Linked DNA regions of Homo sapiens: all the other regions are linked to region 1. The links are contacts of gene promoters, found by promoter capture Hi-C in blood cells and fetal thymus (Javierre and others, 2016). All regions are on one chromosome and are shown on one strand. The core of a region is centred on a gene start or on the middle of the fragment in contact, and the rest is flanking DNA. Distances in the headings are between cores, read along the strand shown. Region 1 holds the start of SP8 (Sp8 transcription factor). Region 2 overlaps DNAH11 (dynein axonemal heavy chain 11). Region 3 has its middle 21 kb from the start of DNAH11.

What was found. The method cuts DNA at HindIII sites, captures the fragments that hold promoters and counts their contacts. A CHiCAGO score of 5 or more calls a contact.
Region 2: a fragment that was not itself captured here is called in contact with the fragment with the promoter of SP8 in region 1 in 1 of 17 cell types (M2 macrophages); the score reaches 5.4 in M2 macrophages.
Region 3: a contact is called between a fragment that was not itself captured here and the fragment with the promoter of SP8 in region 1, in 2 of 17 cell types (M2 macrophages and M0 macrophages). The highest score is 7.3, in M2 macrophages.

The regions. Positions count from the first base shown.
Region 1 is chr7:20,785,167-20,788,764 of GRCh38, forward strand. SP8 (Sp8 transcription factor) reads right to left here and starts at 1,720. Exons shown (of 2, transcript NM_182700.6): 1 at 1,612-1,720; 2 at 1-629. The coding sequence starts at 1,632. The HindIII fragment of the contact is 6,810 bases long and covers 437-3,598 here.
Region 2 is chr7:21,545,056-21,548,653 of GRCh38, forward strand. DNAH11 (dynein axonemal heavy chain 11) reads left to right here. Exons shown (of 82, transcript NM_001277115.2): 2 at 1-94. Among named protein-coding and RNA genes, the nearest start is that of DNAH11, 3.8 kb to the left of the region's middle. RefSeq lists an enhancer at 140-1,106. The HindIII fragment of the contact is 2,659 bases long and covers 444-3,102 here.
Region 3 is chr7:21,520,572-21,524,169 of GRCh38, forward strand. No RefSeq gene overlaps it. Among named protein-coding and RNA genes, the nearest start is that of DNAH11, 21 kb to the right of the region's middle. The HindIII fragment of the contact is 3,957 bases long and covers 1-3,598 here.

The sequences.
Region 1 (3,598 bases), core at 470-2,969:
GCAGCACCCAGGCCCGGGTGCGAGGGCTTAAACCACGACTCGTACGGGTGCGCCATGCCCACCCGCGGGTAGATGCCCTGCAGCCCGTCCACAGAGGTGTGCACCTTGGAGATGAACACCGGCTGGTGGGAGCCGTCCTGCGAGTGCGCGGAGGAGCCGCCGCCGCCGCCCCCGCCGCCGCCGCCGCTGCCCCCGGAAACTCCGGGGGCCTGGAAAACAGAGTAGTCGTTGGCGAAGGGCGAGCTGGAGGCGGCGGCTGCGGCGGCGGCGGCGGCGGCTGCGGCGCTGCTGGAGGTGAGGGAGAAGGCGCTGGAGCCAGGCGAGCCGCCGCAGCTGAACGAGTCGGACACCAGGGCCGCGGCAGCCGCGGCTGCTGCCGCGGCCGCCGCAGCCGCCGAGGACGAGCCGCCGTTCCTGGAGGCCCCGGACACGCCGAAGCTTGAGAGACTGGAACCCACTACGTTGCAGCTGGCGGAAGAAGAGGACGAGGAGCGTTTCCAGGGGTGGAAGCCTTTGCCGAAGGAAGAAGAGCTGTCCGAGAGGGAGGAGGGAGACGGGCTGGGGCTGCCTATCTTATTACAGGTAGCGGCAAGCATGGCCAGAGGAGTCGATCCCAACCTCGGTTCTTCCTGCGAGGAGGAGAGGAGAAGGAGTGGGGGAGGGGAGGTGGGCAAAGGGCCGGTGGGGGAGGAAAGGAAGAAATGTGCATCAGTCCTTCGGTAGCCTCCAAAGCGCCCCACTGCACCCCATCTCTCGCTGCGGCGCGCCGCCACCAACTCACCTGGCACCCCCAACAGCCCCGGCGCCCGGCCGCTTCCTACTCTACAGGAGGGGACAAGTTTGGCTGCCGGCGTCTGATTCGGGAGCAAGCACCACGCTAAAGAAGAGTTTGACAAGTATTCTCACCTAAAACAACACTCTCTTGCACACAAAGCCCCAGACACTTCGTAACAAACAAGCAAAAAGTCCAGATTGGAGAGGAAGGAAGTTTTCTTTGCCGAGAAGCCTGGGGGAAAACCATTGGATTGCTTTTAAGAGCGCTTCCCTGTAATCCGGAGAGCTTTGAAAAACCTGTTCGGGTCCCCAGAAACCCATCCTGGGTTGTTTCTCCCAGGCCAAAAGAAATCAAACTGTAGGGCTCACTCTTTCTTCCTGCTTTTCTTTCTTTCTTTTTTTAAAAGCATATCTACAGTAGTAAAAACGAGACGAGTTCAACGTACCTGCGAGACAAGGCGGGCTGCAGAATTTTTTTTTAAGGGTTAGGGGAAGAATCTGCACTTTGCCCAGAAGGAAAAACTTGCTCTCTTTACCCCCGAAATCGGTGCCTGTAAAATGGGCTGGACGCAGGTCTCCCGGGCAGGGAGCAGCGAGGCGCTGCGCGGTGGCTTGTCTAAATGCCCTTCGAACCTTTTCCTGCGCTGAAAAAAAGTGACTCTGCCCCCTTCTCCCCCTTTTTCTTTTCTCCAAACTCACTTGTATTTAAAGAAAAAAAAAAAAAGCTCTCAATAGAGAGACTGATAGCCCGTGGCCTGGCCGGGGCGACTTTAACCCCCTCCAATCGGCAATAAAAGGAAACTAATTAAACCAGCAAGAGAAAATCCTGAGACTCACCCCTAGAAGTGAAGTTGCCATCACACAAAAGTGCCCTCCTCCTCTCAGAGGATCTTTTTTATATTGATAAATCAGAGGCAGTGTTTTTTTTAGAGGTGTGCAATACAATGATCAGTTCCGCCCATTCCACCACAATTGTAGCTCCCTCTCCGGCTTTGAAGTGCCGCGGAGGCGCGGCCAGCCAATCTGCGGCCTCGCCGGGCCGCGCGGCGCGCGCGCCGTGAGGTCATCGGCGCCGCCGCCTGCCGCCGTGGTGGAAGGGGGAGTGGGAGCGGAGGGGGCGGGGGCGGCTGCGTGTGTTACAAAGCGCAAAGCGCGCGCTCGCGTGTATGAGTGTGTGTGTAACAATGTAACTGTGTGCGAGTGTGACCAGGCGTAGGAGAGGACAGTGCGGAGACTGGAGGGAGGGGGGATGGGGGTGTGACACCGTAACAGTGACAGTGTGGTAAAGGCGGGGAGTGGAGAGAGTGCAGAAAAGGGAGGGTTGTGTGATAAGATAACTGCGTGTGCGACAAAGCGGGGTAGAGGGACAGAGCAGTTAAGTGTTGGGAAGGGTGTGAGTGTACGGTAGTGTAACTGACAAACCTAGGGAGGGAAGAGGGACTCAACTGGGTGGGGGGTGAGTGTGTTTGGTGTTGGGGGAGAAGGAGGGCTGTGAACATGTGTATTTGTGCGACAGAGAAGAGGGAAGGGTGTGTGTGGGCGCTTGTGTTGTGTGCGCGCACCAAAGCTGGTAGTGGGGAATGGGAACAATGCAATAAAGTGTGTGTTTGTAAGAGAGAGACTGTCGAGCTGAAGAGAGAAACCGACTAAGTTGATGGAGGCTGAGTGAATAAATATTCACAAACGCTGCCCCTGTCGCCAACTTCCTTTGGCTCCTTGTACCTAAAATCTTGAGTGATTTTTTTTTCTTAACTTGGTAAACAGCGTCACTACATTTTTGAAGAAGATCTTTAAACCCACCTTTTCTTTCCCGGCTCTCCAACGAAATAGTAGAAAGGTTGAGAGGCTAAGGGTTATTTTTAGGGATGCGTTGGGACGTGGATGCGCGCCTGCGCGCCCATGAGTTGTTTCTTTGATGCCGTGGCTTTTTTTTTTTTTTTTTTTTTTTTTTTCCCTGAGGTGGAATTCTGCTTTAGAAGTGCACGTCTCACTCTAGGGGAGGAGGTGTGTGTGTCCCGTGGTGTTGAGTAAATTTCAATACAAAAGGATTAGATAGAGAAGAGAGTAAGCGAGGGTCGTTTTTTCTTTGGGTAAGAAATTGAAGAGCGTTTTACGGAATTTAGAAATTTTCACAGAAAACCTCACTGCCTCTTTCTGAGAAAAGAATCAGGACTTTGATCGAAATATATGGGTTCTATTTATCTAAGAATAGAGAGGAGCTTTTGACAAATCTTGGACATTTATCCAGGCGTCAGTGTCTAATGGCGATTGGGCCAGAGATCTGTCTATGAGTGTGTGTGCATGTTAATAGATACACTTAGTTCAAATTCGGTGGGGTTTAGTCATTTGCTTGCCATTTGTGTTATTAGTTGCCTTCAGAAATGCCATTACAATTTCACTGCCACCACAAGGGAACTTAAACCGCAGAAAGCACAACACCAGTGTAGCAAAAAGTCCAGTCTTTGTAGCCCTATTGAATATTCATAAGTTATAAAAACAGTTCATATTTTTAACCAGTTACAAGTGCTCTCAGAAGTCTAATTTTAAAATGGAATTAACTAAAATGTGACTAGCTGGGCGAACTGTTTTGTTTTGACTGGGAAAACATTTTTATTTTACTGTTGTGTTTGAACCCCCCTCAAGGATTTCACAGCTTCTAGGGATGTCAAAAAATCTTCCTAGGGTTTACAAAATTTCGAAGTCAAGTTGTATCGTGTAAATTTCATTGAGCAGAGTTGAAACTGATGTTTGTGGTGTGAGAGTGTACATTTCTGACCCTTTTTTAAACGCTGTGGGGATATTGACTGTACATCATATCTATTGA
Region 2 (3,598 bases), core at 523-3,022, 760 kb after region 1:
TGAAAGCATTGGAGTAAATGACTTTTCTCAAGTGGTTTTATTTGGAGAGTTACCTGCGTTGTCTCTTGGACATGTATCTGCTTTCCTTGATGAGGTACTGGTCTGTCTTTAATATTTAAAGCTTTCACTTATCTCCATGACATTTGAAATTATTTAGGACAACTCCGATAATTAAAAAAAGAAGAGCTAGGAGGGGAAGGGAAGGGGATGGGGGTGGTTAAAAAAAAAAAAAAAAAAAAAAGCTTGTAGAAGCCAGGAGTCTCTAGCCAGGTGGATGGAGTCATAACATCTAGACTGTTCCTGAAAGGAGCTCATGCTTACTGATGCTAATATTCAACAGGTGGCAATTGCAGGGATCATTCTCTCCCTTTCTTCCTTCCAACACAATAGAAGCAAATAAAAAGCAACTTGAATAGGTTCTTGCACCTTAGCAGCAGGTTTTAAGCTTCACATTCAGAGTAGAGACAAATTTACACTTTGAAAATGAGTATTATCAGTTCCTTTTTATACTTGTTAGAAACTAACAGTTAAAGACTAAGATTCACTCATGGCAGATAATGGGAAAAGGTGATGAAAGTGTTAGAAATGGTTCTTAAACTTTCTTTTTCTCCTCTTAAAATAGAGAAATAGTCTTCAACCAATGTTACTGACACTTTAATGTGCATAAGAACTGCCTGGGGATTTTGTGAAAGAGGTTGGTTCATTCAGTCTAGAGTGGAGCCCGAGGTTCTGCATTTCTAACCTGTTGCTGATGCTCTTTGTTTGTGGACTAGCTTTGAAGAACAACTGCCAAATAACCAGGTTCCATGGAACTAGAACCTGGCTCTCAAACTTCGCTGAACATTAGGATCACCTGGGGGAACTTGTAACACAATGCCCCAGGTCACACCCATACCAGTTAATTTAGAACGTCCTGAATGGGAGCCAAGTAGCAGCAGTTGTTCAAGATTCCCAGGTGATTCTAATGTACAGTGAGCTTTGGGAGCCACTGGGTTAGATATCTGTCTACAAGGCCAATTTCTAAATCAGACCTCTGTAATCAGTGTAGTCCTGCCAAGGCCGATATTTAAGGTAGGAAAAATGCTGACATATTTATTGCTAGTTATTTACCAGTCTCTCATGATCACACCTCTTCTACTTTTTGAGTCTCTTCTTCTGTCTTTTTGAAGGGAGGTATTTTCCTGCTGGACTAACCAAAGTCTCTCACCCCTAACTCCTGTACCCTGCCTGGGTTTCCCTTCGCTCCTGTTGAATTTAATTGGCTTTAGCTGATTTCAGGGAGGTGCTAGGAAGACAATCTTTTAACTTCAGTACCAGGAACAATTTTTGGTATGCAGCAGGTGCTCAGATTTTAATTGAACTGAATCTGATGACTTTGGTTCAATATGAGAATCTAGACCACTATCAACTGGAACTTGGAGGGGCAGGGCTACACTGTGAAATTCTTGCTCTACTATCTGTGTCTGGCAACAGAAGATACAAGCCTTTTTCAAATTTCTCTACTCTTTCTCTCAGTACCAGGATCTGCTTAATATTCTGAAAAAGGTATGCCTGCTCCTCAACATTATGATGTGTTTCCATACCAGAGTGTATTATATATTTATACTTAGCCAAAGTATATAAAATGTCATATGGTTATTTCTTTATGTATCACGTTGGCCCACATTTCAAAAGAAACAATAATTGTGAATGCTTACCAAGACATAAAGAAAATGTCATTTGGTTCTTCTCAGTCAATATCTGGGCCCCATCCTTGGAAATTCCAATTTAAAAAATCTAGAGGGGCCTGGGCTTCTGTATTTTAAAAGTGTTTCCTCAGTAATTGTATTGAATGGTTTAAGAACTGTCATAAAGAGAAACCCCACAGTTTGAAAAGAGAAACAGAAGGTAAGTAAAGAGATCCACAGCAAAGGCACACTTGCTCTTTTATCTATAGGTGTATATGTCCTTGGTGAACCTTACTTTGGTTCATAGAGAAAGTTTATTTTTCTTACAAATGCAAAAACTACACAAACTGACAACTAAAATAAGACAAAACCTCAAATTAATTGACTTACTTTGTATATATTTAATAAAATTTATTGTAATTAATAAGTACATCCCAGGTCTATTTGTTTTAAACGATATTTCTAGAGATGCTTTAGCTGTTTGAGTTACGAATTGCTTTCCAGAGCATGTGGCTCAGAATTTCGTAGTGTTTTATCCACAGCTCATGACACAGACATTAAGTTTTAAAAGAAGTTGGCTTTGTCATGGAATAATGTGAGAAACACATTTATCCTTCCAAACCCAAAGGATGGACTCGGAGACACGCAGTACAGCAGAAGCAAGACTTTTAATGGCAGTCTTGCAAGATCGGGTGTTTAGTAGGCAGGCACACCCGGGGCAGTTACAGCAGGTAATTTACTTCCTAGCATGTAAGCCCCTCTCCCAGTTCCTCAGTGGTTGAGTACTATGGGGTTACAATATTCCTGGACATTGCCTAAGTTTGCCTGGACATATGCCCCTTATAATGTTATACCCTGGCCCCCTTCCTCACTTAATTTTTGATTTCCCAATAACGAAACTTTCTTCCCTTTTATGGGCTGACTCCTCGTCTACATTCTGTTCCTTTATCATGACTTTCTACATGCATGAGCCATGAGGTTTGTCATATCCTCAGGCTGGCTGCCAGTACTTAGATTTATCATGCCTTGAAAATTGACCGTATAAAATGTTTTCTCACAAGTTCCCTCCTCTTTTCTATTTACTTTCTTTGGTTTTATTTTTATCTAAACCCTTTTGGTTCTTGAATCACTCTAAAAGTTGTTTACTTTTTTCCTTATAGGAGAGCAACTTTAATTTGGTCTCTAATAGTAGCAGATTATTTTGCTAGTAAGTTATGCACATTTGTTTATTAATAGCTATTTTTGTGCTAGTCCCCTTACACAGGAGGAATACGACATCCCATTGCTGTTAAGACTCCTGCCACAATTATGAGAGATGTAAGGATTGAACCTATCATACCTTTTCATTTTTTAAAGCAACCTTCTACCCAACCCATTAATGGGTTATTAATTTCAGCATTTTTTGCTAGTTTGTTGGCTAGGGTTGTTCTTGTAAAGCTTTTGTGATGGTGCCATCTGGGGCGGTATTCTTGGGAATGACAACACTTCCCACCCAGCATAACACATACACCCCCTTTTTCTGCTAGTGTCATGTCTAGTGCAAGCCTGTTTTCTCAGGCTATTTGGCTGGTGGCATTTAACTGGCTAGCCACCCCTTTGAGGGCGTTCTTAGTATAACTGATGAATTTTTGTTGAATATAATAGATATAGTTAATTTAATCCATGTTTGTATTAATAGTTGACCACCAAAAGAGTGCTAACTTAAACCCAGAGCTCTTTGGTTTTGGGCCTTAAATTTATTAGGCATCCCCCTAGGGACACCTACGGAGTTAACATATATATTGGGATTAAAAGAATTTGTCAAATATCTCCAATTTTGGTGGCCATATGTATTTTCGGGTGTCTTAGGAAATGCCAGAGTGAAGGCAATTGGACTAAAGCACAAGTCCTGATCCAACTGGAAGGTAACAGGTTACAGAGGTTCCTTTTCC
Region 3 (3,598 bases), core at 637-3,136, 740 kb after region 1:
GTATTACCCAAAGTAATCTATGGATTCAATGTAACCTCTATCAAAACACTAACAACATTCTTCACAGAAATAGAAAAAAATGCTAAGATTTGTATGGAACCACAAAAGACCCTGAATAGCCAAAGCAATCTGAACAAAAAGAACAAAGCTGGGAGGCATCACACTACCAGACTTTGAAATATATTACAAAGCTATAGTACCCAAAACAGAATTATACTGGCCTAAAAACAGTCTAGGTAGACCAATGGAACAGAATAGAGAACTCAGAAATAAATCCACGTATTCACAGCCAGCTGATTTTCAACAAAGTCTCCAAGAACATATAACCGGAGGCTGGGTGTGGTGGCTCATGCCTCTAATCCCAGCACTTTGAGAGGCTATGGTGGGAAGATCACTTGAGGCCAGGAGTTCAAGAACATACAATGGGGAAAGGATAGTCTCTTCAACAAATGGTACTGGGAAAACTATCCATATGAAGAAGAATAAAACTAGACCCCTATCTCTTACCATATACAAAAATCAACTCAAAATGGATTAAAGAATTAAAGGTAAGACCCAAAACTGAAATCACTGGAAGAAAACATGGGGAAACACATCAAGCCATTGGTCTAGGCAAAGATTTTTTTGGATAAGACCTCAAAAACACAGTTAACAAAAGCAAAAATAAATGGGGTTATATTAAATTAAAATGCTTCTGCACAGCAAAGGAAAACAACAGAGTGAAGAGACAACCTAAAAAATGGGAGAAAATATTTGCAAGCTATCCATCTGGCAAGAGATTCATATCCAAAATGTATAAGGAACTCAACCAAGAGCAAAAAAGCAAATAACTTGATTAAAAAATGGGCAAAATAATCTGAATTGACATTTCTCAAGAGAAGACATACAAATGGCCAACAGATACATGAAAAAAATACTCAACATCACTAATCATCAGGGAAATGCAAGTCAAAATGACAATGAGATATCATCTCATCCCAGTTAAAATGGCTATTATCAAATAAACAAAAAATAGCAAATGCTGACAAGGATGCAGAAAAAGAAGGCCTCTTATATACTGTTGGTAGGAATGCAAATTAGTACAGTCATTATAAAAAACAGTATGTAAGTTCCTCAGAAAACTAAAAATAGAAATAGCATTTAATTCAGCAATTCTACTACTGAGTATATATTCGAAGGAAAGGAAATCAGAATGTTGAAGAGATATTTGCACTCCCATGTTTATTGCAGCACTGTTTACAATAGCTAAGATATGGAATCAACCAAAGCACCCATCAATGGACAAATGGGTAAAGAAAATGTGGTGTATATACACAATGGAATATTATTTAGCTGTAATAAAATGATTTGTAATTTTTGGCAACATGGATGATCCTGGAGGATATTATGGTAAGTGAAATAAGCTAAGCACAGAAAAACACTGCACATTCTCACTCATATGTGGAAGCTAAAAAAGTTGGTCTCATAGAATAGAGGTTACCAGAGGCTGGGGAGGGGTAGGGAGTTGGCAGAGGGATAGAGAGGTTGGTTAATTGATACAAAATTAAAGTTAGATAAGAGTAATAAATTCTATAGCACAGCAGCGTGGCTATAATTAACAATAAATTATAGTGTATTTTAAAATACCTAGAAGAGAGGATTTTGAATGTTCTCTACACAAATAAATGGTAAATGTCTGAGGTGATGGATGTGTCAATTACCCTGATTTGATCATTACACAATACATACAATTATGTGCCAATTTGAAATACATACATATATAAATGAAATAGTTTCTTCACATCAGTGACTTTGTTTGTTTGTTTGTTTGTTTGTTTGTTTTTGAGACAGAGTTTCACTCTGTTGCCCAGGGTGGAATGCAGTGGAATGATCTCGGCTCACTGCAGCCTTGACCCCCTGGGCTCAAGCGATCTTCCCACCCTAGCCTCCTGAGTATCTGGGACTATAGGTGCACACCACCATGCCTAGCTAATTTTTAATTTTTTTGTAAAGACAGGGTCTCACCATGTTTTCCAGGCTGGTCTCAAACTCCTGGGTTCAAGTGATCCTCCTGCCTCAGCCTCTCAAAGTGTTGGGGTTACAGATGTGAGCCACCATGCCTGGCCAGTGATAACCTTATCATGTTTTTGCCCACGAGTGGTAGTTTTAAAACTATGTTCACAAATTTTTTGATATTCCTCTCTTCAATAGATGGAGCCTAAGTCCCCTCCACTTGGGTGTGGCATGGACTTAATGACTTGCTTCTAATGAATAGCATAAAGTGGATGTAACAGCTGTGATTTCAGGCACTAGGTCATAAAAAGTCACTGTGGCTTCCCTCTTAGTTCTCTTAGATTGTTTGCTTCAGGGAGGCCACACACTATGTCATACATAATCCTATCAAGAGGCCCAATATTGCTCAGATATCTGGGCAATAACCACCTAAGTGAGCTTGGAAGTGGTCCTCCAGCCCAGTCAAGTATTCAGATGACTGCAGTCCCAGCCAACATTTGGACTACATCTCATGAGAGACCCTGAACTGGCAAACCCAACTAAGCTGGTCCTAGATTCTTGACCAACAGAAACTAATAAATGTTTGTTGTTTTAAACTGCTACATTTTGGGGTAATTTGTTATGCAATAATAGATAACTAATATACCGTAAGTCAACAATTTTCGACCAATACCTTCTGTGCCCTTAAAAGCATAAACGATGCAGCATTTCTTAAAAGGAGCCTCCATTATTATCTTTGGGAATTTTCTCTACACTAATGGTATACATTCTACAAGTTTTGCTGGAGATATATGGGCAATAATACCTACAACATACCTGCCTGTTGGCAGACCACAAATGACACATCTCTCTTTCAAAGATGTTAAAATACGGGGGAAAATGTGCTTCATAGAATCAGTGAAAGACGTTTTAGGTCATGTTTATTATCTGCCTTCCGCCTCCATCAACCCCTTTCTCTCTCTAAGAACTTGATCTTGTCCATTTCAGGACAAACCTGAGGTTCGTAGAGGGTTAGTGTATTTACATCCTCCACTTTACATGCACCGCACAGGGCTTGTATGGTTATGGGGGGAAAAGCCGTTGGTGTGAACTGAAAGAATGCTTTGTTAACTCAAACATTTCTCAGCCCAAGAAACCTTTGCTATGAGTGTCACAAAGGGGAATACCTTCTTTGTGGGGTCCTGAAATTGCTGGGTAAGTGGTGATGGTGGTTGTTGGGAAAGGAGCTTATGATGCTGGTGGAATTTTGGGTCTTAAAGAGGGCATATTAATCTTTAAAGAATTGGAAATATTTCAGTTACATGTAATGGTCTATATCTTGCAACAATTCATTACCAGCATATTAGGTAATGCATACACACACACACACATATATATATATATAGAGAGAGAGAGAGAGAAGCAAGAATGCAAACAATTAGCAGTGCCACACCCAACGGGTGCATAGTCAAAGCAAATATAAAATAAAGACAGAGATTTACCTGACCTAACCACACTGATATCCTCCTTTAATCCTTCTCCAATAAGTAAGATATCACGTATGGAAAGGTTTTTAAACTATTAAGCACTAGACCAATGTACACTTTAATTACATACGTGGGCTGCC